7 separate regions of the Homo sapiens genome follow, and regions 1, 2, 3, 4, 6 and 7 are each linked to region 5. The links are contacts of gene promoters, found by promoter capture Hi-C in blood cells and fetal thymus (Javierre and others, 2016). All regions are on one chromosome and are shown on one strand. Each heading gives the region's core, a stretch centred on a gene start or on the middle of the fragment in contact. The rest is flanking DNA. Distances are from core to core; before and after follow the strand shown.

Region 1 (4,127 bases), core at 110-2,609, 480 kb after region 5:
TTATGGATGTTCAGGTTGACCATCACAGTCCGGGGGAAGTTCTTGTCCTCAGAATTTGGGCATCCTGGATTTCGTGGGATTGTGATTCCTGCCTTCACTATGGCCTCCAGGCTCAGCAGCAGTAGCAGTGACTAGAATTGAATGGGAAAGGAGAGAGAGGTTGGAGATTAGATTACTATGTGGTTCTTTTTGACAAATTAATTGTGATGATGATGCATTGCTAATCATAGAGAACACACAATGTTCCAGGACAATCTATACTACATTTTTCAGATCAGCTAGAGAAAAATCTAGGTAGATGACCAACATAATGTTAACACCATGGCTTTAAAATTTTTTTAAAAAAACTAGTTTCAACATTCTCCTTTTGACTTAGGAAAGACATGTTATCCATTGGTTGGCAATAATTTTAATAAAAATGTCAAGTCATGGCATGTCATTAGCCTATCAGCACATGCATCATTGTCAGGTCTGGGAAGGAATAATAACCTTGATTTTCTAGGTAGAAATATCCTCCTGCACCATTGTTCTCAGTCCCATATTCTGTGAAACTCATCGTGAAGTCAAACATTCACATTGGAAGAAAGAGCTATAGAAAATCTATGTGGTATCAATATTCATGCTAGAAGTGCTGTTGGTGCTACTGGCAGGCATCCAACTAAAAACTCGATCTCCTTCATGTTTTCTTAGGTATATTTTCCAGTTGTTCTAAATTTAACATGTATTGATTCTGTAATAAAATCAGATTTCAAAAAAGATACTTGAAGTTAAATATTTAAAAAATATAAACCCCACTTATTCTAAAACACAGTTATACCTATGTTTAGTTAGAATACATAGTTTCAATGTACTGAGAATATGGTACGAGATAATGGAAACAAAGGTTGTTGCTGCTACGGCTTTCAAAATCTCAAGGATAGTGACCCATTTTAAAGAAAAATGCCGTGGGAGAATTATATTAAATCCTTTGTACTCAGAAAAACAGACTTTCAATAAATTTTCTTTCTTACTGCACAGCATCATGTGACACTTCTTGTGTGGTTTAGCCCCAATATAGCTATCTTTCAGTTTTAATCTTATCTTTCAAACTGCTGTGTATCAGTTCTTGAAAATGCTGCACAATGACTTAAATACCTACCAAAGCTTTCATTTCCTATCCTACATATACAGTATTCCTGGATCTCCATAGTCAGAACCCAGCGTTTCATGCCCACGGTCCAGAAATACTATCTGGTCCAAATCAGCAAGAGCATCGCACGTTAGTGCAGGACTCACCACCAATGAGGTCTTCCCAGGAGTCATCGTTGTTTCTTCCAATCAACTGGGGATGGATGAGTTTGTGCCTGCTATGAGATGGACAAAATGTAGCGCTATCGTCTCTCTTTTTATAGGGCTTTTCTCCTTCTGTGGTCACTTACGTGGCGTGTCGCAGTGGGTTCAGGGGTGACACCATTTTGGTTAAAATTTCCGCCCCCAATGAGGTCATAGAAGAATCTCTCCTTCTGAAGGAAAATGGGAAGGGCAGAAATTCATGTTCCTAAAGACCATGTCCTCTTTTCATTCTTACTTGTTAGAAGCTGAGCAGAGCTGCTATGCTATGGGTCAATATCATGTATTTATGAACATATGTACAGCTGCCAGAAGAGTTATGCTCTATTTTAATGGTTCATGAGGAAGAAAAAGTTTGAAGTAACATGTAGGTCTTCTGGTGTCATGTACCTTGATTTTCCATTTGATCTTTCTTTTCCTCACAGATTCCTTGGCCAGGTGTTGTGGAGACAATTCCGGAAACTACTCAAGTTCCCATCATATAAGTAAACAAAAAATGAAAAAAATATTTAATAATAAGATATATCCTATTTAATTGAATTTAACAATTCTTTTGTTGAATATCTACTCTGCTCAAGGAATAAATAACTAGGTTCAAGAGACACGAGATTTTCTGTTAAAGGCATGTTCCAACCCTGCATGCTACCAAGCAACTTGGTGTTTTGAGGAAGGAATTGAAAATGGGGATAGAGACTGGACAAAGGTGATGGAGATGGAGAAAAGGGGGGCAGGGGGGAGTAGAGAGTGATGAGAACTAGAAAGGAGAGGAGACATGATGGGGGAAAGAGAGAAGGAGTTAGCGGTTCTTTTCTCTGTACTCTAAGTAAGATGAACTTGGACTCAGGTCCTTGAGAATAGTTCCTTCTCAGGAATACAGAGGACTAGGACAAGGAAGGGCCAGTGGATATAGATGTGGCTGGCTATATGTCACCCTTCTCCGCCCCTACCCCCACTGAGGTGAATGATAACTCTCAGGCACTCAGCTGGTATCCCATATTCTACATGCTAACTCGGGGGGAGGCTGGCCAGTAGTTCCAACTCAATGGCTGGAGTGTAAAATTAGTTTGCCGGATCCTGAACCTGTTTGTCCTGAGATCCATTCCTCCCTGTCCTGCTCTACCTGTAACTCAGAGGGCTGACCCTGGAGGCTGCTTGCTCAAACTCCCCTGTCAGCTGGGTTTCAGCTAGGCTCAGCCAAAAGGGAATTGGAGGACAGATGAGTAAAAGTGGGAAGTGGAAAGTGGAAAGTGGGGAGAAGCCAGGAGCTTCCTTCCTCAGTCTCCCAGAGGACTGCTCACTCCCTTTGTCCCTGCAGCCTTCAAATGGTAACAGCTTCTTGCTGATGGCAATCTCAACTACCAGGGTGACTAGTTCTCTGACTTAAACTCCCTCTGTTGCAAATGCCTGAAGGGGCTTCTCTTTCCTGGCCAGATAAACCCTGGCTGATGAATGAGGGAGGCCATAAGCACCTGAATTTTAGTGGCAATAGTAGATATCCTTGATAGGTGAAGCAGATACAGATGGAGGAGGAGGTAGGATACAGCTTCAAGTGATTTCCGTAGTCCTGGTTTTGGCATCACTATCTATGTGCTTTTCAAGACAAGATTCAGAATGAGCCCTACTGCCCCTCCTCTACACACGACCAGGCAGCAATCCCAGAAGCTGCAGCATCTCTCACATCACCAATTTCCAAGCTTCCTCTAACTCACACTCTCACCCACTTGGATGAGCTATGCTTGCTTTTCCCAATTGCTTCCTTCAGACCATCTTCGACATGCTTTCAATAATGATTCTCAAAGCATGGCTCTAATTGTGCCTTTTCTTCTGCCATTAGCTTGCATACAGAATGAAGGGTAAGCCTCTTAGCATTTGAATTAATATTTGAGTTCGTACAACTTCCTTTCTAGCCTTACCCCCCACCATGCTCCAGGACCTGGGATGATGGGGTCCTGATTTTTCTCCAGGCCTTCTTTCAAAGCTTACCCACCCTTTGTTAAGGTATTGTTTCTGAAATGCCCTTCCCCATCCTCAGGTTATCAAAATGCTACTTGTCCTTCAAAATCCTGTTTAAATGTATCTCACAGGTCTGGCCTGATTACCTCAGTTGAAATAAATAGTTCCATCCATCACATGTAGCTTACACCTACCTCTCTAGTAACTTTTCTTTCATTTTGTAATGTGTTTCATTTGGCTTTAAAAGCTATGGGTAAGATATGTGTTTATTTCCATGTTTAGATTTTACTGTCAGCCTTCAAGGCTAGTATGTTCTTCAACTTTGTGACTCCTATGGTGCCTAATGTGGCCCTTTATACAACATGGGTCTTCACAGACTGCTTTTGTGTTGCTTGTTCTTCTCTGATACAGGGCTGTTCATGCATATTTCTAGTGTATTGCATGCCATTCATTTACATACTGACTTTCTTGTTTTCTTTGTAGCTCATTTCTTGCTAGACTACAAGCTACCTGAAGACAAGTAGTCTTATTGGTCTTTGTAGCACTTAGCATAGTGTCTAGTAAGTAATAGCTGTTCAACATTTTGATTAATTGACAGTATGAGTAATGTTATTTGAGAAGTTCAGAATTTTCTATATTCTTCTTAGAACCTACCTGCATCTCAATAACCCTACTGAGTTGTCTAGTGCCTTGGCTCTGCATTCTGATCCTTTTGAACTTAGTGTGATGAGGCTATAGCCTATTCAGGATCACCCTGGAGTGGAGGATTCCTTGTTGTTGCTTTCTGGCAAGGAAGAAGGAGGGGAGAATGTGCTTACTGTGAACTATTTTGATTGAAGTTGCAG
Region 2 (3,946 bases), core at 946-3,445, 430 kb after region 5:
CTAACAGGTACTCTCATTGATAGAACACAGGCATACACAGGAAGATACATTCACAGAAAGAGCTTCCTGCACAAAGTAAGCCACCAGCGCAACATGACAGTGAAGACCCTGCATGGCCCAGCCATGGTGAGTAGCAGCAATCATTCTGGTTTAAGGACTGTCATGCCTAGGATTTCAGAAAACAGAATCCTAAGGAATTAGGTTTGATTGGGGTCTTTTTGGAATTACTTCTTAAAAAACAGAGATGACTTTAATTTTGACTCCTGTCTGGTGGAGAAAAAGAAAAAAATAACTAGAAAAGTTATAATGGCATAAAAATGCAGCTCCTGGCCAGGCGTGGTGGCTCATGCCTGTAATCCCAGCACTTTAGGAGGCCAAGGCGGGCGGGTCACATGAGTTCAGGAGTTCGAGACCAGCCTGACCAACATAGCGAAACCCGGTCTCTACTAAAAATACAGAAATTAGGTCGAGCCTGGTGGCTCACGCCTGTAATCCCAGCACTTTGAGAGGCTGAGGTGGGTGGATCACTTGAGGTCAGGGGTTTGAGACCAGCCTGACTAACTTGAAACCCTGTCTCTACTAAAAATACAAAAATTAGCTGGGCATGGGTCAGTTGCCTGTAATCCCAGCTACTCGGGAGGCTGAGGCAGGAGAATGGCTTGAACCTGGGAGGCGGAGGTTGCAATGAGCCAAGATCACGCCACTGCACTCCATCCTGGGTGACATAGCGAGACTCTGTCTCAAAGAAAAAAAAATGCAGCTCCTCACCCAATGGCTTTTGCCCAGGTGGTGTTAGTGTGTGCCCAGGTGGTGTTAGTGTGTGCAGTCCTTGGCATCACAGACAACTAGCATGTTCTTTCCTGTGGCCATCCATTATAGAGTCAGGTTGGCCTGAAATTCTTATCTCATGGTGGGAGCTTGGCCAGCACTTTAGGGATTATGTACATATACATTTTAACCAAGGAAACTGGGGCCTCAAGAGGTTTAATGATTCCCCTGAGATTACAGGAGTGCCCTGGATGGAAGAAATGAAATCACCCAGTGTTGACTTTGGACAGCTCCTAGAGAAGGGAAATTTCCCATGTCTCTGATTGCTATTTATTTATTTTGTACCATCTCATTCTTCTTGGAGGAAAGAGAGATGTTAATGCAATGAAAATCTAGCCCCAGCAGGTCTGGAATCTTGCCTGACATTAGTCAGATAAGGCCTGAGAAGAATTTACTATAGAGGTACATGAAAACAGGGGTTAGGAAATCCCGCATCATATTATTGGCTTAGATAATTTCCTTTTTTTCTCCTTTTACAAGCCATACAACTTAAAAGAGCTTGAATATCATAAAAGGTTCATGGCATATAGCAATGGTATGTTTTATTTTATATTTATGTGTTATTTTAAAGATTACATGTAGCTCAGCAAAGTGCCATATTTAGGGGCATAGGCTTTGATGTCAGGCAGACCTGGCTCCACTGCTTGCTAAATGTAGGATTTTTGGGTAAGTTATTTATCTTCTCTGTGCCTCCGTTTCCTCAACTGTATGGTGGGGATAACAATGGCATCTTTCTCATGGCATTTATTGGGAGGATTAATTAATATCTTTGAGAATAAATGAGTCTATACTCTGTACTGGCAGATTTGTGTATGCTTAATTTTCAGTTAATTTGGCCATTCTAATAAACAACGACTGATAATGATAGAGAAAGCATTCAGTAAGTGTTAACTGTTCATATTAATATTGTTATTATTGTCCTGGAAATTCTGATCAATCCACTGAAGTAGATGGGAATACTTTCCACTTTATACAGATGAACAAAAGCTCAATTAAGCTATTTATTTAACATTGCTGGATACTGTAAGCACAAGAACTGGTACACCAATCTAAGCTTTCTGTCTCCACATACAGTATGCTTTTCTTTGGTTCAGAGGCAAGATTTGTGAATTTAAAGCCATTGCATCCAAGCAATTCTGTTGGGTAGCTTTGTGCTCCATAGCTATTTCTAATTCTAGTTTCCTTAAAGAAATCTGTTGGGTTGTCAGCAAGAAACATAACAGTGCAAGGAGCATTGGAATAGGATTAGAAGTTGAGAGGTGCAGGCAGATAGGACATCTTCAATAAGTAGTTGAGGCAAATTCTCATGGACCTAGAGGTTGGCCAGGTGCATGCTTACATGTGTCCACACATTGCTGGTGAGTATAGAGGATGGATGTTCAGGTTGCTCAGGTGAGCTCACATTAGAGTGAGGTGCAAAGCTAGGCTGAGAAGGTTGTTGTCCTGTTACAGCTCACCTTCACCTGGTGCTTTCCCTTGCCCCTGTCCCCTATTATACAGATTGAGAGCGATATCTATTCATCTGCTTTATAGGTGGCATATAAGAGTTCAAGTCATGCTCTGGATTTCTCTGAGAGGTGCTGTTTAAATCATTCTTAAGAACCAGCAACAGCCTGGTTCAGAGCCCCTGCTCTGTATTACATAACCACTAAAATCTACAGTTTCAGATCAAAAGCTTTGTGGAGCAAATTGGAGTATTTGCAGACATCATCTGATTTCCTGATAACGAGCTATGTGACCTACAACACTTATGCACATCTAGTACAGCTGTCACATTACCTAAAACACTTAGCTCTTCTAATGAGACAAAACTAAGATTAATGTTGGTAATAATAAAAATGACCTTCAATGACAATAGCACTGACTACTGACACCTAGGTTTGAGTCCCCAGACTGGTACTCATAGGCTGGTGAACCCAATCAAGTTATTTATTCCCTCTGGGACAGAACTCTTTCACCTGTCTAATTGGGATAATTAATACTAGCTCTGATTACCTCACCAGGTAGTTGTGAAAATCCAGTGTTTAAAGAGATGTAAAAGAATTTTCTAATATACTCTAAGAATATATAAGCAAATGTAATAATGACTTGTTAGAAGCATTGTAATTATTGCTAAGTCATATAACTCCAATGTATGTATTTAAAAGTTTTCATAATGAAAATTAATAGTGATTCAGTGAGTATGACACAGAAGAGGAAAGAGAAAACACAAAGGAGGAATTTACTTAAGAACCCTAAATATGTGATTGGTAGGCTTGGGAAGTTATCTAAGACCCTCTAATATAAGTTGGCATCTTTTAAAAAAAAAGTCATAGCAGGCCAGGCGCGGTAGCTCAGGCCTGTAATCCCAGCATTTTGGGAGGCCGAGGTGGGCAGATCACTTGAGGTCAGGAGTTCAAGACCAGCCTGACCACATGATGAAACCCTATATCTACTAAAAATACAAAAAATTATCAGGTGTGGTGGCGCACGTATGTAATCCCAGCTACTCGGAAGGCTGAGGCAGGAGAATCGCTTGAACCTGGGAGGCGGAGATTGCAGTAAACCAAGATTGTGCCACTGTACTCCAGCCTGGGCGACAGAGTGAGACTCCATCAAAACAAACAAACAAACAAACAAACAAACAAACGCCATAGCAGTTTGTCAAGACAAGGTATATGAGTGTAAATTCCACATCTGTCTAGTCCACTGTGTAGCACAATATAGAGTTAGCAAGAGTCGCCAGTATTGGATACTTATCATATGCTGCCAGTGTTCTTCATAATTTATATGGATCATCTCATTTAATCTTCACATTTTTTTTTTTTTTGAGGAAACAGAGTCATCGCTTCTAAGAGTCCTGGAATTGAGTTACAGACCCTGGACTTCTGACTCTGAAGCCCATGCCCTGAGCTACCACACTGTAAAGTCAAGAGCTAGTTGTTGAATGAATGAACGATTGTGGGGGATGAAAGTTGATGATTGCTGATTATCTAAAGGCAAATCAGCCTCATTCTGACTCTTCTGGGTCAATCTTGCTTTCAACTTCTTTTTAGTGTCAGCTTCCTCAGTATGGCAAATGGACACTATGACCTTTTTGTTTACTCTTATTGTTTTTTGTCTCTAGTATCTGCAAAAT
Region 3 (4,226 bases), core at 625-3,124, 360 kb after region 5:
CGCCCACCTCGGCCTCCCAAAGTGCTGGGATTACAGGCATGAGCCACTGTGCCCAGTGGGAGTGACATTTAAAATGAAGAATGGATAGGAGTTAGGAAGTTGAGCAAATGGTAGCAGGAAAAGTATTCCAAGGAACAGCATCTGCAAAGGTCCTGGGGTAGGAAGGAAGAAACTCAGTGAATTTGAAGAACTGAAAGAAGCGAGGGGAGGCAAAGGAAAGTGGGGAAAGATAAAGCTGCTTCTTACCAACTAGACTTTGAACTCCTTAGGCCCAGGGCCCCCATTTTATCTTTTGTGAATCACCCCTCACTCCCACCCTAAGTACTGAACACAGTACTTAACACATGGTATAGCAATATGTTAAAGGATTTGACTACCTATTTAGTAGCATGATGCTACTAAATCATCAAGAATGATGTAAGAAATTAGAACAAAGCATAGAGTAAAACAATCAAGCAGAGCAGTTTTAAGACTCCAGTAGGTCCCAGGCATTTCTAATCTCAGAGGCTCTGCTACCCCCACATAGTACAAAATATATTGAACCCACATTTTACATCAAACACCACGTATATCACCACATAATTAGAGTAGAATTGAGTTGCAGTTAATTAATTTTCATCATGTTAAATTTATGGACATTTAAAGATACATATATTAATTTTGATTTTGCAAACTTTTTTTTTTAATGTCATTCTCCCCTCATCCCTGAAAGTCTCAGACATTTTTGTGGACCTAGAAAGAACTGTAGGTCCAGGAATACTCATTCTATTTTGTAGAATGAGATGTTGCCTGATTCCAGATTTGCCAATAAGAGCCAATTAAAAATAGAAGAAATGTAGGTCCTGAGCACTTTGCCTAATGGATACAAGGCCCAGCAATCAAGGGCTAAACTGGAAGGAATAAACAACAAATGCTAGAGCAATTCGGGGAGAGGAGGTATCAGTAAGGGCAGGAAAGCTTACGCGTCATATCTGTTAACCTGTTGATTTGCCTGGCCAAGAACTGCAGCTCCTAGGAAGCAGAGGAAGTAAGGGGACACTGTAGTCTGGGCATAACTTGGACCCCAAAGTTTCTCCAAGCAGAAACTAATGGGGTCAACTTGAAGGACTAGAAGCCTAGGTAAAAGTATCCATGCCTTCTTTCTTTTTTTCACTATGCCCCAGAACTGAGCAGACCTGTATCTTTTCAAAGTTTGGAGTACACAAGAATGGACACTGTCAGATGTTATGAAGGCAAATGTCAAACCATTCAGGGAAAAATCACAGATCTGATTACATGGCCTGAGACACTAAACAGGAGGATGTCTCCAGAGAATAAGAGAACTGTCAAAAACTGAACACTGAGGATACAATGAACAATGGGGAAGGCAGGAAATTGAGAGCTGGAGAGACCCATCAAGCTGAAATGCAAACTCATTAGTCAGCTCAGATTTGAAAAATGCCGCATTGAGAAAAGAGAATGTAGATGCAATGAAGGTGGCTTAGTCTGCTCAGGCTGTCATAACAAAATGCCATAGACTTTTCGATGGCTTAAGGCACAGAAATTTATTTCTTACAGTTCGGTAGGCTGGGAAGTCCAAGATCAAGGTGCTGGCAAGGCAGGTCTCATCCTGAGGCCTCTTCTCTTGGCTTGTAGGAGGCTGCCATTACTGTTTACTCACATGACCTCCTGTTTGTGTGCTGGGGCTATGGTGGAGTGAGCTCTCTGGTGCCTCTTCTTATGAGGGCACTGACTTCAGTGTGACAGTCCCGCTGTCAGACTTCATCTAATCCTAAGTACCTCCCAAAGGCCCCATCTCCATAGACCATCACATTGGGGATTAAAGTTCATTGCAACATATGAATTTTCAGTGGACACTATTTAGTGCATAGCAGAAGGATACACCTAAAAGACGGACACCTAAAAGAGGGACTTTCAGGACAGCTGACAAAATGGATAAAGCCAAGAATGAGCTGTTTGAGAAAAATAAGAATTTTTTTTTTAAAGGCCATGTAATATTGCAGAAAAGAGTAGGAGCATTGGTTACAGACAGACCTGGGCTGAATCCTGTTTATTAACTGTGTAGCCTTCGATAAGTTACTTAATATCTCTGAGCCTCAGTTTCCATAGCTGTAAAAGGAACATTAAAAACGTATCACAGGGTTGTTGTAAGGATTAATGAGATAAAGGGTTTAAAGTACTGGCACAGAGAAAAGGCCTTCTAAAGGTTTTGATGGGGGATGGAAGGTACAGGCATGTTGTTGAGGAGCGAATGGGATGGTGATAGGTGACAGGGAGAAGCTGGTTCATGCTGAAATGTGCTGGCTCATGAGTACCACTCTCGCTGAGCAGGAGGTAGGACTGGGTGACTTCTCTAGTGCTCTCCAACTCTGAAATCCCATTAATCCCCATATCTATGAGGAAGCAGATCTGTTCATCTCACCTGCTTTGTTGTTACTATCCATTCGTGCTCTGCATTTTTACAAATATTATCTTATTCAATCTTCACTACAACCTGAAACCTAATAGTAATAATAATAGCGATTATTATTCCCATCTTACAGATTAGCAAACTGAAGTTCAAAGAATTGGATAACCTAGCCCAAGATCAGACCTTTGGAGAATGAAAGAATCTGGATTTGCACCCGGAACTTACTGGCTTCCACCTCTAAACACCAGCTTCCCTGTTCCAACTTTTCTAAAGTTGAATGTTCTTCATACAAATATCAGCAGGAAGACATTGAGGCACAAAATAAATGGGGTATTGTATGAGAATGCCTAGCTTTCAATGAGCTTATGTCTCCAAGCTTGGACAAATTCCGGCTGGGGTACCAACAGAATTTATATATGAGAAGACTGTTGGCAGCTTTTCAGGGACTGTGGGGCCGGGGAGAGACGCCAGAAGACTGTGGCTGGGTACACACTATTCCATTTTGTGAAAAGGGGAAGAAGGTTGATTCTGCAAACCATAGATGCCAGAGTCCTGGGCAAAGTTCTTGAAGGGCATCCTATAAACATAAAAAAAGGGAAGTCATTGCTAGGCACCAACAAGTTTTCATTGAGAAGAGATTATTCCAAATGAACCTAACTTCCATTTCTCATAAGGTGAAAAATTGGTATGGCTTTATTTAGACAATACATTTTGCTCATTTTCATGAACCAGTTGAAAAATCTATTTTGTAAAAAAATTAATAAAAAATAATAAGACTGTTTCTATGAGAAATATAATTTTTTGGTTATTCATTTTAAAAATTTGATGTAATTACAGATTTACACATGCTTATAAGAAATAGTACAGAGGCCAGACACAGTGGCTTATGCCTGTAATCCCAGCACTTTGGGAGGCCGAGGTGGGAAGATCACAAGGTCAGGAGATCGAGACCAACCTGGCCAACATGATGAAACCCCGTCTCTACTAAATATAGAAAAATTAGCTGAGTGTGGTGGCATGCACCTGTAATCCCAGCTACCCAGGAGGCTGAGGCAGGAGAATCGCTTGAACCTGGGAGGCAGAAATTACAGTGAGTCAAGATCATTGTGCCATTGCACTCTAGCCTGGCAACAGAGCAAGACTTCGTCTCAAAAAAAAAAAAAAAAAAAGAAGTAATACAGCGAGCTCCCCTGTACACTTAGCTCAGTGTCCCTAGTGGTTACATTTTGTAAAACTGTAGTATGATAGTACCATCAGGATATTGGCATTGACACACTCACTGATGTTGTTCCAATTTCCCCAGTTTTACTTGTATTCGTGTGTGTGTGTGTATGTATTAAGTTTTATACAATTGTATCACTTATGTAGTGTTACCTATCCACTATTACAGTCAAGGTACTAAACAGCTCCAACTGAATAATCTTTCTTAATGGGGGAGATAGAACTTTAAACCTTGAAGGACAAAAGAGAGAAATAGTATTTTAGGTCAGAGAAGAGCAAAAAGAAAATCAGAGGCAGGGATGAATGTTGGATATTGGGGAGAGGGTCTCGGCTCTATTAAAGGAAAGGATTGCTACATTATAGACATAGTCATTGGGTCAGTTAGGTAAGATGCATAACCCCATTATAAATGGCCTTGACCATCATGGACCATGCTACTTAGATATAAAAACAGTAGGCCGGACGCGGTGGCTCATGCCTGTAATACCAGCACTTTGGGAGGCTGAAGCGGGTGGATCATGAGGTCAGGACATCAAGACCATCCTCGCTAACACGGTGAAACCCCGTCTCTACTAAAAATACAAAAAATTAGCTG
Region 4 (3,679 bases), core at 1,031-3,530, 380 kb before region 5:
TGATGTCCAACTATATTTGACAATATCATGAAAGTAACTATCTGCGTGAACTTGTAGTTCCTAGCAGATGATTGTCATCCTAACTCACTTTTTTTGAAATGAAAGGGCCACAATAGTGCCTTGCTTTTCATTTGGTGCTTTTCCCACCATGTCAAGAACCCTTAGTAGCCACTTAATAAATGTATAACGATGGCCCAGAGCTTATGAGAACCACACGTTTTTTTAGGAGAGATCAGTGTGAGTTATTTTTTACCTTTCTATAGGTGAAGCATGACCTGTGATAAAGTATTGATAACATGTGACTGCTCTTTTGACTACCATAAAAGATAATGCCTGAGAACCGGAAAGGAAAGTACTATTGTATAATGCCCAAATACGTATTTGGCAATATCATGAAAGTTACTATCTGCATGAACTTGTGGTTCCCAAAAGATAGTTATTAATGGTTTTGCCCTCTTGGACATTGCCTTTGCTTTGAAAGAGAATTTACTAGAGAATGATTTAACTAAGACAAAGGGGAGTAAGAAAAATGTAAGATATACATGCCTTCATGTGATCTTAGCTGTTGAAAAGCAAGTTTTTTCCTAAATTAGTGTAAAAGTTTTTAGAAGGAGTCATAATTTTGGTACCCTAGTCCCAGTACAGTTGTCCAGTTTGCAAAGAAGTGGGGCGTGACGGGATGACAGTGAGGGTGGACGTGGTAGTATAGGAAAATCATCTATGGTCAGGATTGCCTTTTAAAGCTCCATAAGTTGTTCATTCATTAGTTAATTCATTGAACATGTCTTTATTGTGAGTCCGTACTTGTGCCAACTATGCCAGTTCTCTGGGAACTGAGTACTGGGAATACAGTTGTGAATATTGCAACGTTTCTGACCTCACAGAGCTTATATTCTAAGGTTAAACACAGCTTGTATGTAGCCCTGTAACCTAGGGGTAAGTGAGGGCTCTATGGAGAGTACTAAAGTGCTTCTGCTTATTTGGGGGATTTCCTCATCTTCAGGGCTTGACAAACTATGGCTTGTGTGCCAGTCCTTCCTGCTGCCTGTTTTTGTAAATAAATTTGTACTGGAACACAGCCATGCCCATGTATTTACATATTGTCTTTGACTGCTTTCATGCTACAATGGCAGAGTGGAGTTGTGACGGAGATGGAGAGCCTGCAAAGCCTATCCTGTTTACTGACCCTTCACAGAAAAAACGTGCTTATCCCTGCCCTATTTTATTTTTACATTAAGCCTTTACTTCCTTTAATTCATTTTGATTTTTTGTATACATGCTAGCAAAGCATCTTACACTGAGATCAGCTCCTTAGTCAAATGTGTTGTAATAGCATATAAATACTGATAACATGTGGCTGTCCTTGTAACTACCGTAAAAGATAATGCGTTAGAACCAGAAAGGTAAAGTATTATTGTGTAACGTCCAGCTACTTATTTGCCAGTATCATGAAAGTTACTATCTACATGAACTTGTGATATGCTCTTAGTCACTCCCCTATCTTCACTATCCCTTATCTTGCCCACCCCTGAAACACAGGCAAGCAGGACTATTGCCACCCTCGGCAGTTTTCATTAAGCTGGGGACTCTCGTTCTAGCTCATCTACAGTTTCACACATGGCAGGGTAAAGGTTTGTTTTTCTGGCTGTTTTTTTATTTTTTATTTTTTTTAACATTTCGCCTTTACTTCAGTTCTTTACAGTCCACCAAAGCCAACTATGTGTCCTAGTTTAAAAATCATCTGCAAGTGATTGAAGAACTTTTTTAAGGTTCAAGGCGTGAGCACCTTTTATATTGTAAGAGAAGCGACAGGGAGTTATGGAAGCTTCTCATGGGATTAAGGACCTAGTGCAGGACGAGTTCTTTTTTCAGAAGCTGGGATTGAAAGAGGAGAGGGATGGTAAAGGTATGAAGAAGTTTCTGGGGCACAGAAGAAGGCACATCATGTAACGGATTATCTTCTCTTGTTAACATCCAGTTGATGCAATAGCTGAATGCATCTTTAATTCACTCCTCTGTCAAGGTAAAGACAAAGCAAGATCCATGTAAAGAAGGTCCTTTTGGCTTTGTAACTGCTATTCCTTATGCAGAAAAAAAGCAGTAGTCCAAGAGGCAAAATGCTTAAAAGGTTTGCTTGCTAAAATGTACAGAGGCAGAAGAATTAGGTCCAGGAGAAAAACATAAACCCGGATATACTATTTCTAGTACCTTTTTAAAAGAAATTAACAGTATTCACTGACTTTTGTAAAGTTAGGACACATTCAAACCTAGAATACGAAGTCTAATTATAAACCTGTAAAGGTAAAATGGAACTCAGAATTACCATGAGAAGGGTCATCTAATGATTTTGCATATAATCCACTTTTCCTAGGAGGATAAATGAAAGTAACAGAATCTTTTCAATGTAAGATAATTAATGCAAAGGGAGACAAGCTCCTTCTAAGGAACTGAATGGTGTCAGTGGGCCTGGTAAACCACAACTCCCAGAGAACCCCAAGTTTGCTGTAACTTTTTGTCTCCTGTCTTAGAAAATGTGTAATGATGGCATTAATTCATTGATTAAGGTTTCAAAATAAAGAATGAACTACAATTTTCCCTGCCCCTCGCCTCCATTTTTTAGGCTGTGAATGAGCAAGGCACCTGATGTGAGCTGCTGGCCATGAGCAAATGTTCTTTGCCTCCACCGAGGATTGACGCTGAGGGGAGGGAATTGGGGCAAATCACAGGAAGCTTTTCCCCAATGTCACCTAGCCAGGAACATCATAACATTGACTTCAAAGGTTTGCTGGAACTCTTTGAAAGAGAGATAAAGCTGTCTTTCTTTGGTAGTTGAGTACAGCCTTACCCAAAGGCCAAAGGCCTGATCTGACCGCATGGAGGGGGACTTTCTGTGATCCTCTGAGACTCAGTCATCTTGGCATTGTTGTGGGAGGGCCCAGGCTGCCTGCCTGCCCCAGCTATTCTGTGGTATTCACTGTTCTTCCACTTCAGAACTTCAGAACTTTTAGTTGGGCCCAACAGTTTATCTTTGTTTTGTGTATGACAAAATAGAAGCACTGAGAATTTTGAGGTACTTAGCCAAGGTGGTACAGAAAATAATAGCAAAGACTAAAACTCACATTTGGGCCCTTCAAACAATCTTTGAGGACTTGCTACTGCAAGTGGAGTGAGAAGACAAAGATGAAGCAGTCTTGGAGAGTGTCGAGGCTGAAGCAGAGGGTACACCTGCAGGTCATTGCCACGGGGAAGGGGCTGGCAGTGAGGTGAGGACAAGGCACTATGGCATCAAGGGAGAGGACCATTCTCGGGTCTATATGTGTAGGTTGGGGCAGGAGGCTTGGAAGAGGTGACATGTGAGCTCGAAAGAGAAGGAATCGATGTTTAATGTTTACTGGGGCCTGGCTGAGGCACTGGGGCACTTGTGCATCTCTTGAAAGAAAGGTGTGTAGCATACAGGGTCCTTCGGTGGCACTGTCTTCTCCGCTAACCTTTGTTCATGTGATGCAAAAAGCAGAAACATTTATCCTTTTTTTTTTCTTAGACAAATGCTAGCTCAATTCCTGATACAGAGTCACAGAATCACACAGCTTTAGAGGAAGAAACCACCTTAGAGCAAGTCCCATGCCCTAATTCCACCAAAAGTAAACTCAAGGACCAAGAGATGCCCCGAGGCACAGCA
Region 5 (4,220 bases), core at 1,451-3,950:
TAGTCAATTCGACTTAACAGCTATTTATTTAGCATTTTCTTTAGGCAAGGCAGCAGGAAGCAATGGTAAGTGCTAAGACATGGCCTTGGTCCTCCAGGAACTATAGTACAACACAGCTGTAGGAGGCAGATGTGTGAATGAGCCCTAAGAGGAGAGGTGTGGGTACCATAACAAGGAGTGGCACCCAGCAAGGACTGGGAGCCTAAGGATGCCCAGATCAAACAGGGTCCCAGCTGGGACCTTGGAGAGATGTTGTGCCAAACCCCTATTAACCTCAATAAGGAAGGCAACAGGTTCAAGAGGCCAAAAGAGACCCATTAGGGGCTTACAAACAGAGGAGGGAGTCCAGTGGTGGTGAGCTGGGCAGGAAAACAACCGCTTGCAAACATCATGCAATTTATGCAGCATTTTCACTTAACACCCTCCCCTCAATGACCTCTACCTGGCAACTTGATTTAACTCAAAATTCAAGGCCTCAATTCCCCGTATGGCCCCTGTTCTATGGGACAGGTGGGGCAGGGGCTCAGATGTTCTTCATAGACAAGAAATAAATCTCTGGGTTGGGCAGGCCTGGGTTCCCTAGTTCAGAAAACACATTCAGGTTCATCTGCCACACAGGGTCATTCTAAGGGTATGCTTTAATTATTGCTGTCAGGTGCATTTACCCTACAGGGGAGCATGAATAAGTCAAGTGAAGAGGGTGCAGGGAAGGGTGTTCCTGGCAGAAGGGAGCGCATGTGCAAGGCCCTAATGGCACAAGAAAGCATGTTCTCAAAATGAAAAGTGCAAGGGGCTTGTGAAAAGAGAGGGTGCTGGTGAGAAAGACAGGGCTGTACACCCACATAAGCCCCGTAAAGGGAGTCTGGTTCCGTCCTAAGGGCAATGAAGGATCACTGAAGGGAGCCTCACAATCAGATTTAAATTCCAGCAAGCACTTCCCAGTTGCAGTAGTGAAGATGGGTTGTGAAGTGAGGCAGGGAGATAAATCGGGAAGCTGTTGCAGTAAAGTAAGCAAGAGCTTAGTTGATAACGGTAGGCTTATCTAGAGAAATGGCAATGAGAATGGAGAGAAGGTGGACAGATTTCAGAAGTTCAGGAGGTAGAATCAGAATTGAATTTGAGGCGGGAAGGGAAAGTCAGGGGTGAATCAGAGATGACTCACCCCTAGGTATCTGGCTTAGACCATTAGGAGAAGTAGGGAGTCGGGGAGCCTCATGCTATTCCCTGAGACAGAGAACATGGGAACAGCAGCAGGTGTGTGGCGGTGGGAAGAGGGAGGTGGCTAGGAATGATGGGACCTGTTTAGAATGTATTCAGTCTGAGACGCCCAACACACAGTCCGGAAAACACCCTTACATACAGATCTGAAGCTTATGAGAGTTCTTTCATTATCAGGTGTAACTTCTAGACCTAATTTTCTCCTAAAGCTAAGTAGCTGTTGTGAAAGATTAATTCCACTCCATCCTGAGCCCCCCAGCTCTTCCTGCGATCTTCTCTTGAGGACCCATACCCTTTTACTTGGTTGGGATTCTCTCAACTCTCAGCCAGCCAAGCTCCTTGAGGGCAAACCAAGGTTCAGTTTATCTTTGTCCTCCTCACAGCACCAAGAACCCTGCCATGCACAAGGCAGGTACTTAAAATACTTGTTAAATGAATAAATGAGTGAGTGAACCAAAGGAACAGCTTCTGCCTGAAGACATTCTGTAACTGACCTACCCAATACAGCTTTATTGCCAGGAAACAGGTAGCCCCTTAATCTCCTTAGCGAACTGACTGTTGTTCTAAAGAGGCAAAATAAATCTACTCCCAATGCTTGCAAGAAGATTCTGTTCTCACAGAGAATATTCAGACAAAAGAATCACCTATTCCATGACGGAGCCATGTGGCCAGGCCAGAAGCACACATTAAAGCCAGAGGCTGTGTTAACATGGAAGGGATAAGGTGGGAGAGGATGTGCACAGCACATCACACGCTCTCATCACAAATGTGATGCTCAAGCCTTGGAAGGACTAAAACGCATCTTGGATGCAATGCAGCAAAACGATTTACCATACCAGGTACAAAACAAGGTGACAGGGGACAGCCTCGCTGCCCGCCCCAAATCCTCCAAAATTCGGAGAATTAAGAGATTTTCGGTGAACTGTTACATAAAAAGCATTTTCACATGCTAAAGATATAACAATTACCTACCCTTGAGCTCTTGGAGGGCACAAAAGGCACATTTTCGAGTGGGGTCTGGGTGGTGCTGAGAAGGTTAAAATCCTGCCAAGCATTTTGCAATGGTCCATGAGCCCACCCCACCACCCCAGATCCAGGAAGGTAGGAGGCAGGATAGGTGGGATATTTAGGGATACCAGAAGGCAGAAACTCGGGAGGAGGAGAAAAATGATACCGCGGAGGTAAGACCGATGCCCTGCAAAATCCCCTCAAGGTCCTCTGCATCATCGTTTGCTGTACAGGTTTGGCGCGGGGGAGGGGATGCCCGCTAAGCAACGCCCCTTATATTTCTGCAGTTTTGTAAGAAAATTCAGAGCAGGAAGGTCTCCATTGCGGGATGCACAGCTCACCTGCAGCCCCGAGCCTTCACTGCAGCTGAAAAGACAGAAGTCTGGGGCCAGCTGCCGCCAAGCGCGGTACCTGGAGTCCGGAAGCAGTCTCCGCACCAGCGCTGTCCCACTCGGCGCCCAGCCGTCTCGCGCTGAGCAAAGGCCGCTCCCTCCTGGAAACGCCCTCCCTGCCGCGCGCATGCGCTGTGTCCCTTCTCGCCTTGCAGGACTCCACCCGGTCCATGCCCTCCGGCTGAATCCGGGCGGCCTGTAGGCCAGGCAGCCAGGAGGCCCTGTGCTGCAACATCCCGGCGGCAGCCGGACCCGTTGCTCCGTCTATCCTGCCTTCGGCCCTGTCCTGGAGCCAGGGCTGGGGTTTGCTGCCTCCCGCCTGACGGAGCAGGACTGGCAGGAAGCGTGTTTGCAAGAAGCCAAAATTACAGAAGGCGAAGATTTTTAAATTAACTCCATTCATCTTTCAAGGGACATTTCCAGAACCTCCAAAAGGCAACCCGAGGTCTTCTACACACCCTCCAGCAGACTGTCCCCACTGTCAGTGGAGGGAGCTAAGGTTCAGTGAGGTCAAGTGACTTAGTTGTCCCAGGTCAAAATCCAAGTTTGCCTGGTGTCAAAGCCCAAGCACCCTTCATTACACTATGGGATCATCTAGATGTGGTTGGGAGACGAGGATCCTAGTTTTAAACTTCAGGCCCAGGATTTGCTGGGTTTAGATATCTACTGGGAAAGGTATAGAATTCCAGAGTTGGAAAGCACTTAAAACCTTGCCTAATGCAAGGCAATCCGCTCAATCCCAGGAACGAAACTTAAACTGACCTTATTTTTTTTTTAAATACAGGATCTCAGTCGGTCGCCCAGGCTGGAGTGCAGTGGCACCATCCCGTCTCACTGCAACCTCTGCCTCCTGCCTCCTGGGTTCAAGCGATTCTCCAGCCTCAACCTCCCAAGTAGCTGGGATTACAGGTGTGTGCCACCTCACCCGACTATTTTTTTTTTGTAGAGACGGGGTTTCACTGTGTTGCCCAGGATGGTCTTGAATTCCTGAGCTCAAAGCAATCCTCCCGCCTCTGCCTCCCAAAGTGCTGGGATTACAGTTTAAATTGACTTTAAATTATGCCTCCCTGTAGCAACTTATCATCTCAATCTTCTGCCTTCTTGATTGAATACAGAACTCCGACCCTCTTCCTTATGTAACAGCCCTTTGGAGATTTGAAGAAGGTTGTCATAGTGAAGTAGCTCTAGAGGTTCTGTGTCACTGAGAATTACAGCGGAATTCCTCAGAATAAAAAAGGAAACTCAAAAATTAAATCTTGTGAAGTTTGTTTGCTACATCTATTCTTTGTGCATAAAAGTGCTTCAGGGAAGTAATATAACTACATCTAACTTATGAAAGTCTAAGTTGGTCCTGGGGAATTAATAAAATTCCTGAAGATTCACAGAAGAGTTGATGGCAAGGCACTGGAATGTGGCGTGGAGAAAGTGATAGCCTGAAATTTGGTTCTGAGTTCTCTCAGCCCTCCTTTCCATCCCCTTCTATGCCCATCCTTACCCCAGCCTCCTCACCTTCTCTCCTCACACTCTCAGAACACTTACCCTATTTGGAATAAAACTAAAATCCTCTTGGAATACTTCATTATCTTCATCTGATGTGACCTG
Region 6 (4,158 bases), core at 32-2,531, 340 kb after region 5:
TTCCTTCCTTCCTTCCTTCCTTCTTTCTCTCTCTCTCTCTCTCTCCTTCCTTCCTTCCTTCCTTCCTTCCTTCCTTCCTTCCTTCCTTCCTTCTCTCTCTCTCTCTCTCTCTCTCTCTCTCTTTCTCTCTTTCTCTCTTTCTCTCTTTCTCTCTTTCTCTCTTTCTCTCTTTCTTTCTTTCTTTCTTGAGACGGGGTGTCACTCCATTGCCCAGGCTGGAGTGCAGTGGCTCAATCCTAGCTCACTGCAGCCTCGACCTCTTTAGCTCAAGCAATCCTCCCACCTCAGCCTTCTGAGTAGTGGGGACTACAGGTATACATCACCATACCCGGCTAATTTTTGTATTTTTTTTTAGAGATAGCGTCTTGCTATGTTGCCCAGGCTGGTCTTAAACTCCTGGGCTCAAGCAATTCTCCCACCTTGGCCTCCCAACGTGCCGGAATTGCAGGTGTGAGCAGCTGCACCTAGCCATATGCCCATTTTCTAAAGAACTTTTTCTCTTTTAAAATGGAATTTCAGAGAACTATTTCACAGAACTCCCAGTGGCAGAGTTGGGGCTAGAGCCCCTTTAATAGATGACGACAGAAGAAAAATTCCTACCTCCTGATTGGGCCACCATGTAGGCTTCTAGGCACAGTAATAGGAAATGTAAAAACCTTCCTGTACCTCTCACATCATGTAGTCAGCACCTGACTCTTACTTCATAAATTGAGTCCACGTGGGGCGTGGTGGCTCACTCCTGTAATCCCAGCACTTTGGGAGGCTAAGGCGGATCGATCACAAGGTCAGGAGATCAAGACCAGCCTGGCCAACATGGTGAAACACCATCTCTACTAAACATACAAAAATTAGCCGGGCGTGGTGGTGTGTGCCTGTAATCCCAACTACTCAGGAGGCTGAGGCAGAGAATTGCTTGAACCCGGGAGGTGGAGGTTGCAATGAACCGAGATCACGCCACTGCACTCCAGCCTGGGCCACAGAGCGAGACCTGTCTCAAAAAAATTAAGTCCAAATAAAATGGAAGACTCTCCTCAACCACCTGCAATATGGCTTCCTCCCCTGCCACTCCATGAAATGGCTCCTCTCCACATCATCTTTGACCTCCTGGCTGAATCGTTTTTACTTCATATTTGTGTCTGTCTTGGCCTCTCTGCAGTGTTTCATTGCTTATTGAAACTCTCTTCTGTCTTGATTGTAGGGTAGCAGCCTGTCCTGGTTTTACTGCTACTTTTCTGGCTTCTCCTCAGCTTTTTCTCAAAGGCTCAGGTTTCGCTGACTACATTGGTCATGGTTCAGGTGCAGAAAGCATAGCCTTCCCTAGCTAGTTTAAGCCAAAAAGATTATTGCAAGGTATTAATTGGCTTACAGAATCAGTGGGAGAGCTGAAGAAGTGGATTTGAGGCTGAATTACTAGGAACAAAGTCACACTCAGAACTGAGTTGCCAGGGGAGTTGCTGCTTCTGCCACAGTTAGGGAGTGTCAGCTGAGCTAGCAAACTCACAACCTAGGGTTGCTGTGCTCCGCACAAGCAGAATAGATGCTTCCTGCCCTGCCCGCCTTGTGCCCCAACAACTCATTCAACTCTGAATTTGGAGTCTTATGTCAGTGTGTCTAATTGTCACAACCTAAGTCACATCCTTAGAAACTCTACCTGGGGAATTTGGAAAATGTAGTTTTTGGCTTCCCAATTCTGCAGTATGGGAAGGCATACTCAAAGGAGATTGAAATAGACATTGAGTCACTCAGTCAGTTAGGTTTTATTTTTTTTTCCTGTTGCAATATACCAATAACAGATAATATTCACCATGCATTACTCACTCCCTTGACTTAAATTCTGATGCAGTTTCCTAAAATTTAGCTGGAAAGTAAAGCATAGACCACAGACTACTCAGGGAAGGGGTATTATATTCATAAAAACATTTTATAAACATGTGAGTAAGTAAAATATTCACTTAATGATATACCTGTCCTATGAATGTTTTCTTCCTTTCTATTTTTTCTCTTTTTTAAACTAAAAATGTAATTATTGGAAAACATAAAGATAAATTGGAAATAAATATAAAGTTATAAAGAAGCACTACAATACTTAAATCTCCATTGGTATTAGAGGTTATATAGCGTTCTTCTCTAAGAGCTAGGACAAAGACAAGCTGGAATGTGAGTTATATGTGCTATTTCCTCAGCTCTGGCATTAACACCATTCAAAATAATATTTAAAAGCAAGTAGCAGGACGGGCATGGTGGCTCATGCCTGTAATCCCAGCATTTTGGGAGGCCGAGGCAGGTGGATCACGTGAGGTGGGGAGTTTGAGATCAGCCTGACCAACATGGAGAAACCCCGTCTCTACTAAAAATACAAAAAATTAGCCGGGCATGGTGGCACATGCCTGTAATCCCAGCTACTCAGGAGGCTGAGGCAGGAGAATCTCTTGAACCCGGGAGGCAGAGGTTGTGGTGAGCTGAGATCACACCATTGCACTCCAGCCTGGGCAACAAGGGCGAAACTCCGTCTCAAAAAAAAAAAAAGCAAAAAACAGGTAGCTGAGAGTGCTGTTATTAAAGGCATAGCCTGGTACCTATTTTAATTTATGTAAAGCAAGTCATTCACAATTTTAATTCTTTATTATTTTCCAGTTTTAAATACAACGTATATAGAAACAATCCCCATGTATGGGTGTGATTACCACTGTACCTTGCCATTCTGCATGCAAATCTGATTACATCATGCCTTGCTAAATAGCTTTCAGAGGCTCCACACCCCATTGAGATAAAGAGTAAGTTCCTCCAACTAGCATTTCACACCCTGTGTGAAGTGGCCCTTGCTCCAGCTCCTGCCATGTCTCCATATCCACACTCCATTCCAGCCGAAGCAAACCAATGACAAGTTTTCCAATGCACCATGCTCTTTTCTGACTCTGGCTCTTTGAAAGTATTGATCCATCTAGAGAGATTATCTTTCTCCCACTCTTGCCTTCTGAGAACTCTAAGAACTCCCCCAAGATACAGTTTATGTGTCACCTTCTCCCAGAAGCTCCGCCTGAAATCACTCTCAGCCCATACCCAACTCCCAGGCTGAATTAGGTGCCCTCTCCACGCCACCCTCCCCTCACCCTTCACTTTCTCCAAGGCTCCCTCAGCACCCTCAGCCATAGCACACTATTGTTAACTGTCTATTTACATATTGGTTCTTCCCATTAACTGGTCTGATTTTTAAAGTTGGAGGTTGATTTTACATAAATGTATTACTCCAAAATAGTAATGCCTAAACAAATATTTGTAAAATGAATGAGTAATCAACAAATGAACAAATGAATGAATAAAAATGTTGGCTTCTCTAGTACACAATCTACACATGCTTTATGCAATTTATAAAGACTATTCACTTGCCAATACAGAAAAAAAAATGATTTTGCATCTTATTGCAGGCATCTAAGTGTGTATTAGGTTAGCTAAAATTTGGCATCAAAGATCAGGTACAGTCACTCAGGCCTGTTATCCTAGCACTTTGGGAGGCCAAAGTGGGCGGATCACTGAGGTCAGGAGTTTGAGACCAGCCTGGCCAACATGGTGAAATCCTGTCTCTACTAAAAAATACAAAAATTAGCCAGGAGTGGTGGTGCACGCTTGTAATCCCAGCTATTTGGGAGGCTGAGGCGGGAGGATCACTTGAACCTGGGAGGCGGAGGTTGCAGTGAGCTGAGATCGCGCCATCGCACTCCAGCCTGGGAGACAGAGCGAGATTCTGTCTCAAAAAATAAAAATAAATAAAATCTTGGCATCAGAATTTCAGGAACTGAGAGCTTGTTAGGCAAGAAGACTAAATAAGTGGTCTTTAACTGGAGCTTATCCAGTGGTCCATGAACTCCCTGAAATGATATGCAAAATTATATTTATGTATTTGTGTAAGCCTGCACCTCACATTCATGTGTTCTCCTTTATAGGGCAGGTCAGCAAGGCTTCTTTGAAAGGAGGAGTGGGGCCTGGTGCGGTGGCTCACACCTGTAATGCCAGCACTATGGGAGGCCGAGGCAGGTAGATCACCTGAGGTCAGGAGTTCACGACCAGCCTGACCAACACGGAGAAACCCCATCTCTACTAAAAATACAAAATTAGCCAGGCATGGTGGCACATGCCTGTATGCCCAGCTACTTGGGAGGC
Region 7 (3,813 bases), core at 827-3,326, 290 kb after region 5:
AGATCTTAAAATAGATATGTACATAGTATATGTGTTTATATGTGTCTATAAATATATTAGTGTATCTATCTGTTTGTCCTCTTCTCTCTAAAGCAGATACAATTACCTGGGCATAGTGGCTCACACCAATAATCCCAACACTTTGGGAGGCTGATCACTTGAACCCAGGAGTTTGAGACCAGCCTGGGCAACATAGGGAGATCCTGTTTCTACAAAATAACTTTTAGAAAATTAGCTGAGCATGGTAGTATGTGCCTGTGGCCCCAGCTAAGGGGGAGGACTGCTTGCTCCTGGGAGATTGAGGCTGCAGTGAGCCATGATAGTGACACCGCATTCTAGTCTGGGTGACAGAGTGAGACCCTGTCTTAAAAAAAAATGGATTCAACTGAAACGTAGCTTCCTATGTCTACCCATTCCCTTCCCACCCTCCCCACTGGCAGTCTCTATGCATTGTGGGTGGTTTTCATTCCCACTGTTTTCACATGAAAACATTTTGAAATTATAGTTATATCTACATATAATGATACAATAAAACCACATGAAATTTATAAATAAGATTTTTTTGGATATTTTTAACCTTGATACAAATTTTGTACCTAACATTCTTCTTTCATTTAATCTACGTTTGTGTTTTTCCACATTAGTTGCTATTCTCTAGTTGACTCATTTTCTTTGCTGACTACTTCCACTGTATGAATATACCACAATTCTTTAGTTCATCCTCCTGTGGATGGACATGGAGGTTGTTTCTAGTGATTTGCTCCGACACCCTAGGCTGCAGTCTAGTCTTGCCCATGTCTTATTGGATATGTATATGACTAGAAGGGGATTCCTTTATAGACTTTTGCCCAGGTTGTTGCCTTTACCTGGAATAGCTTCCTGTCAGAAAACCTTATCTGTCCCTGAAGGCACTTCTCACATGCCAATTCTTCCATGACTTCCAACTCACCTGGTCAAAGCAATATCTTCTTCCATCCATTCTCCTGCATCCTCCAGTTTGTATCACTTAAATGATGCTACCATATACAACCTTGTTCTGTAGTTACCTGAGTATTCCCAAGTAGGCCATAAGTTTCTTATGGGCAAGTATTGTGTTGTATGGTACCTCCCTGCTTAGACCCTAGCACAGATTTTTGCCAGAGTGGCCCCTCAACAAACATCTGTTGAATCCACTAAACTCTCCTTTTGCTACCAAGTACTGCTATCATTATCTAATGATATATATCTTATGACAATAATATACACCTAATGGCTGCTACATTCTCATGTGTTATTATTTATGTATTTTCATGGGGCTCTCTAATGTATGTGGGAGAAACTAAATGTTTAGGGTATACCCTGAGCTCAACAACCAGCTGAGGCTAAATGCCCATAGAGAGCTGTGTATGCATAAAGATAAAGGAAAATATTTCTCCTCCTTTCTTGTTAAATCACCCAAAATATTACATTTATGCCAGTAATTTTATAAGAATTGTGTTCAGAACTAAAAGAAATCAAACATTGGGTGGATAAGAATGTTAACAAAAATTGGAGTAGGGGGCAATTTCTGAGATTGGTGCTGTGCTTTTTTTCTTTTCTTTTGAGATAAGATCTCACCCAGGCTGGAGTGCAGTGGCACAGTCATAGCTCACTGCAGCCTCAACCTCTGGGCTCAAGCTATTCTCCCACCTCAGCCTCCTGAGTAGTTGAGACTACAGGCACTTACCACCACACCTGACTAATTTTTATACTTTTTGTAGAGCTGGGGTTTCACCATGTTGACCAGGCTGATCTTGAACTCCTGGGCTCAATCATTCCACCCGCCTTGGCCTCCCAAAGTATAGGGCCTACAGGCCCGAGCCACCGCACCCAGCCATTGCTGTGCTTTTTGAATCCACCAATGCTTGTTGCCATTAGTGTAGAAAGGACTTAGAGAGAGAATCCGTTTCCTCTTCCCCCACCTAGTTCCTGTCACCTTAGCAATTATTCTATAAATGTGGCCTGGCAAGAGAGTTACAAACAGCCATGTGTGTTCTGAGTTGCTGCTAGTGTTGTAGCTTTAGAATTCTTGACCAGAAGACAGGATTGGGGAAAAGCAAAGGTGCCTGTCCATCCATAGATATTAATTTCCCCACAAAGTTCAGTGGGAGGAGGAGGGTGGGGGAGATTTTTTCCTGTTCCAAAGTAGAGATTTATGCTCAGTATACTTCTTTTTATTAGACCTAGAAAAATGAGGTTAAGAAATTATATGTGGAAAAATCAGTTCAAGTATCCAAGGATGCAAACCTCTTTCAGTTTGTTCGTGAGTACAAAGTATTGGCTTAAATGATAGCAAGTTGATACCTGTTTATACCAGCCTCATAAATTTGTAATAAAACATGTCCAGGTCACAGGATTTTTATAAGCAGCTCACCATTCCATGCCATATGATCCATCAAATAAAGAATACATGAAGTAAGGATTTTTAAGCTGCCCTCTTTAAGTTGACAGGAAGGTCAGTTGAAGCCTGGAAAATCCTAGTCTTAATGAAGGCGTTTAAAACTCATATTGAAAAATGTACGTTTTCTCAGCTCCCAAGGCACCACAACTTCTCAGGACAAACAACAACATGCAAATTTTGGAATAACTAAAGAAATCAAACCCTTGGTGTTTGTTTCTAGGTTATAGGTTGATTTTAGAAAAGGCCACATATAAGAATAACCATTTGTCCTTACTGTAACATAACCTCAAGTCTCAGATGATATCTGATTATAATCTGTGAAGTGCTACCTGACTGCCTGGATTGTTTTTCCAAATGAGTTGAAATGTCCACGTCCACAGCTGCCCACGAATATGTACTTTAAAAGATATACACAGCTTGATTATTGACTGAGCATTGCCATACCACGGGTGGACCCTGGCAGATTTAGACACAGATTTTAATAGTAGCCAAGAGACAAACAACTCCTTCCAGTCTTTGCTCAAATCTCACCTCTTCAAGGAGGCTTCCCAACCACCCTATTGATTTAATACCGCATTTCTACTCTCCCTGGCATTCCACAACACCTAACTCTGCTCTACTTTTTCTTTGTTTTCCATAGTACTACTTATCACCTTGTGACTTAACATGTTATTTTCTGCTCACACTTTAAAAAAATCCAGGCCGGGTCGGGTGGCTCACGCCTGTAATCCCAGCACTTTGGGAGGCCAAGGCAGGTGGATCTCATGAGGTCAGGAGTTGAAGACCAGCCTGGCCAACATGGTGAAACCCCATCTCTTAAAAATACAAAATAGCGGCCAGGTGCGGTGGCTCACGCCTGTAATCCCAGCACTTTGGGAGGCCGAGACAGGCGGATCACGAGGTCAGCAGATCGAGACCATCCTGGCTAACACGGTGAAACCCCATCTGTACTAAAAATACAAAAAAATTAGCCGGGCGCGGTAGCAGGCGCCTATAGTCCCAGCTACTTCGGAGGCTGAAGCAGGAGAATGGCGTGAACCCGGGAGGCGGAGCTCGCAGTGAGCCGAGATCGCAGCACTGCACTCCAGCCTGGGGGACAGAGCGAGACTCCATCTCAAAAAAAAAAAAAAAAAAAAAAAAAGAAAGCTGGGTGTGGCGGTACGCACCTGTAATCCCAGCTACTCGGGAGGCTGAGGCAGGAAAATCACTTGAACCCAGGAGGCGGAGGTTGCAGTGAGTCGAGATCGCGACACTGCACTCCAGCCTAGGCAACAGAGCGAGACTCTGTCTCAAAAAATAAAAATAAAGTAAAATACCTAACATAAAATTTACCATCTTACCATTTTAAGTGTACAGTTCAGTAGTGTTAAATCAATTCACAGTGTTGTGCAACC

What was found. Contacts are between HindIII fragments. The CHiCAGO score rates a contact against its expected background, and 5 or more counts as called.
Region 1: a contact is called between the fragment with the promoter of IL17A here and the fragment with the promoter of TMEM14A in region 5, in 1 of 17 cell types (naive CD8 T cells). The highest score is 5.0, in naive CD8 T cells.
Region 2: a contact is called between a fragment that was not itself captured here and the fragment with the promoter of TMEM14A in region 5, in 1 of 17 cell types (total CD8 T cells). The highest score is 5.4, in total CD8 T cells.
Region 3: a contact is called between a fragment that was not itself captured here and the fragment with the promoter of TMEM14A in region 5, in 2 of 17 cell types (monocytes and naive CD4 T cells). The highest score is 8.3, in monocytes.
Region 4: a fragment that was not itself captured here is called in contact with the fragment with the promoter of TMEM14A in region 5 in 5 of 17 cell types (naive CD8 T cells, erythroblasts, megakaryocytes and 2 more); the score reaches 8.8 in naive CD8 T cells.
Region 6: a contact is called between a fragment that was not itself captured here and the fragment with the promoter of TMEM14A in region 5, in 1 of 17 cell types (monocytes). The highest score is 5.4, in monocytes.
Region 7: a contact is called between a fragment that was not itself captured here and the fragment with the promoter of TMEM14A in region 5, in 6 of 17 cell types (neutrophils, fetal thymus, M1 macrophages and 3 more). The highest score is 5.8, in neutrophils.

What each region holds. Positions count from the first base shown.
Region 1 is chr6:52,183,607-52,187,733 of GRCh38, reverse strand. It overlaps IL17A (interleukin 17A), which reads right to left and starts at 1,359. Exons shown (of 3, transcript NM_002190.3): 1 at 1,276-1,359; 2 at 1-131. The coding sequence starts at 1,302. The HindIII fragment of the contact is 1,880 bases long and covers 1,146-3,025 here.
Region 2 is chr6:52,240,577-52,244,522 of GRCh38, reverse strand. IL17F (interleukin 17F) reads left to right here and starts at 23. Exons shown (of 3, transcript NM_052872.4): 1 at 23-126. The coding sequence starts at 94. The HindIII fragment of the contact is 621 bases long and covers 1,885-2,505 here.
Region 3 is chr6:52,309,767-52,313,992 of GRCh38, reverse strand. No RefSeq gene overlaps it. Among named protein-coding and RNA genes, the nearest start is that of MCM3, 27 kb to the right of the region's middle. RefSeq lists a silencer at 3,631-3,700. The HindIII fragment of the contact is 1,829 bases long and covers 960-2,788 here.
Region 4 is chr6:53,053,854-53,057,532 of GRCh38, reverse strand. All of the region lies in intron 1 of CILK1 (ciliogenesis associated kinase 1), which reads left to right. Among named protein-coding and RNA genes, the nearest start is that of CILK1, 6.1 kb to the left of the region's middle. The HindIII fragment of the contact is 905 bases long and covers 1,828-2,732 here.
Region 5 is chr6:52,669,593-52,673,812 of GRCh38, reverse strand. TMEM14A (transmembrane protein 14A) reads right to left here and starts at 2,700. Exons shown (of 5, transcript NM_014051.4): 1 at 2,568-2,700. RefSeq lists enhancers at 2,836-2,995, 2,984-3,484. The HindIII fragment of the contact is 3,190 bases long and covers 1,373-4,220 here.
Region 6 is chr6:52,329,318-52,333,475 of GRCh38, reverse strand. No RefSeq gene overlaps it. Among named protein-coding and RNA genes, the nearest start is that of PAQR8, 31 kb to the left of the region's middle. The HindIII fragment of the contact is 7,409 bases long and covers 1-4,158 here.
Region 7 is chr6:52,379,367-52,383,179 of GRCh38, reverse strand. All of the region lies in intron 1 of PAQR8 (progestin and adipoQ receptor family member 8), which reads right to left. Among named protein-coding and RNA genes, the nearest start is that of PAQR8, 19 kb to the right of the region's middle. The HindIII fragment of the contact is 5,472 bases long and covers 1-3,813 here.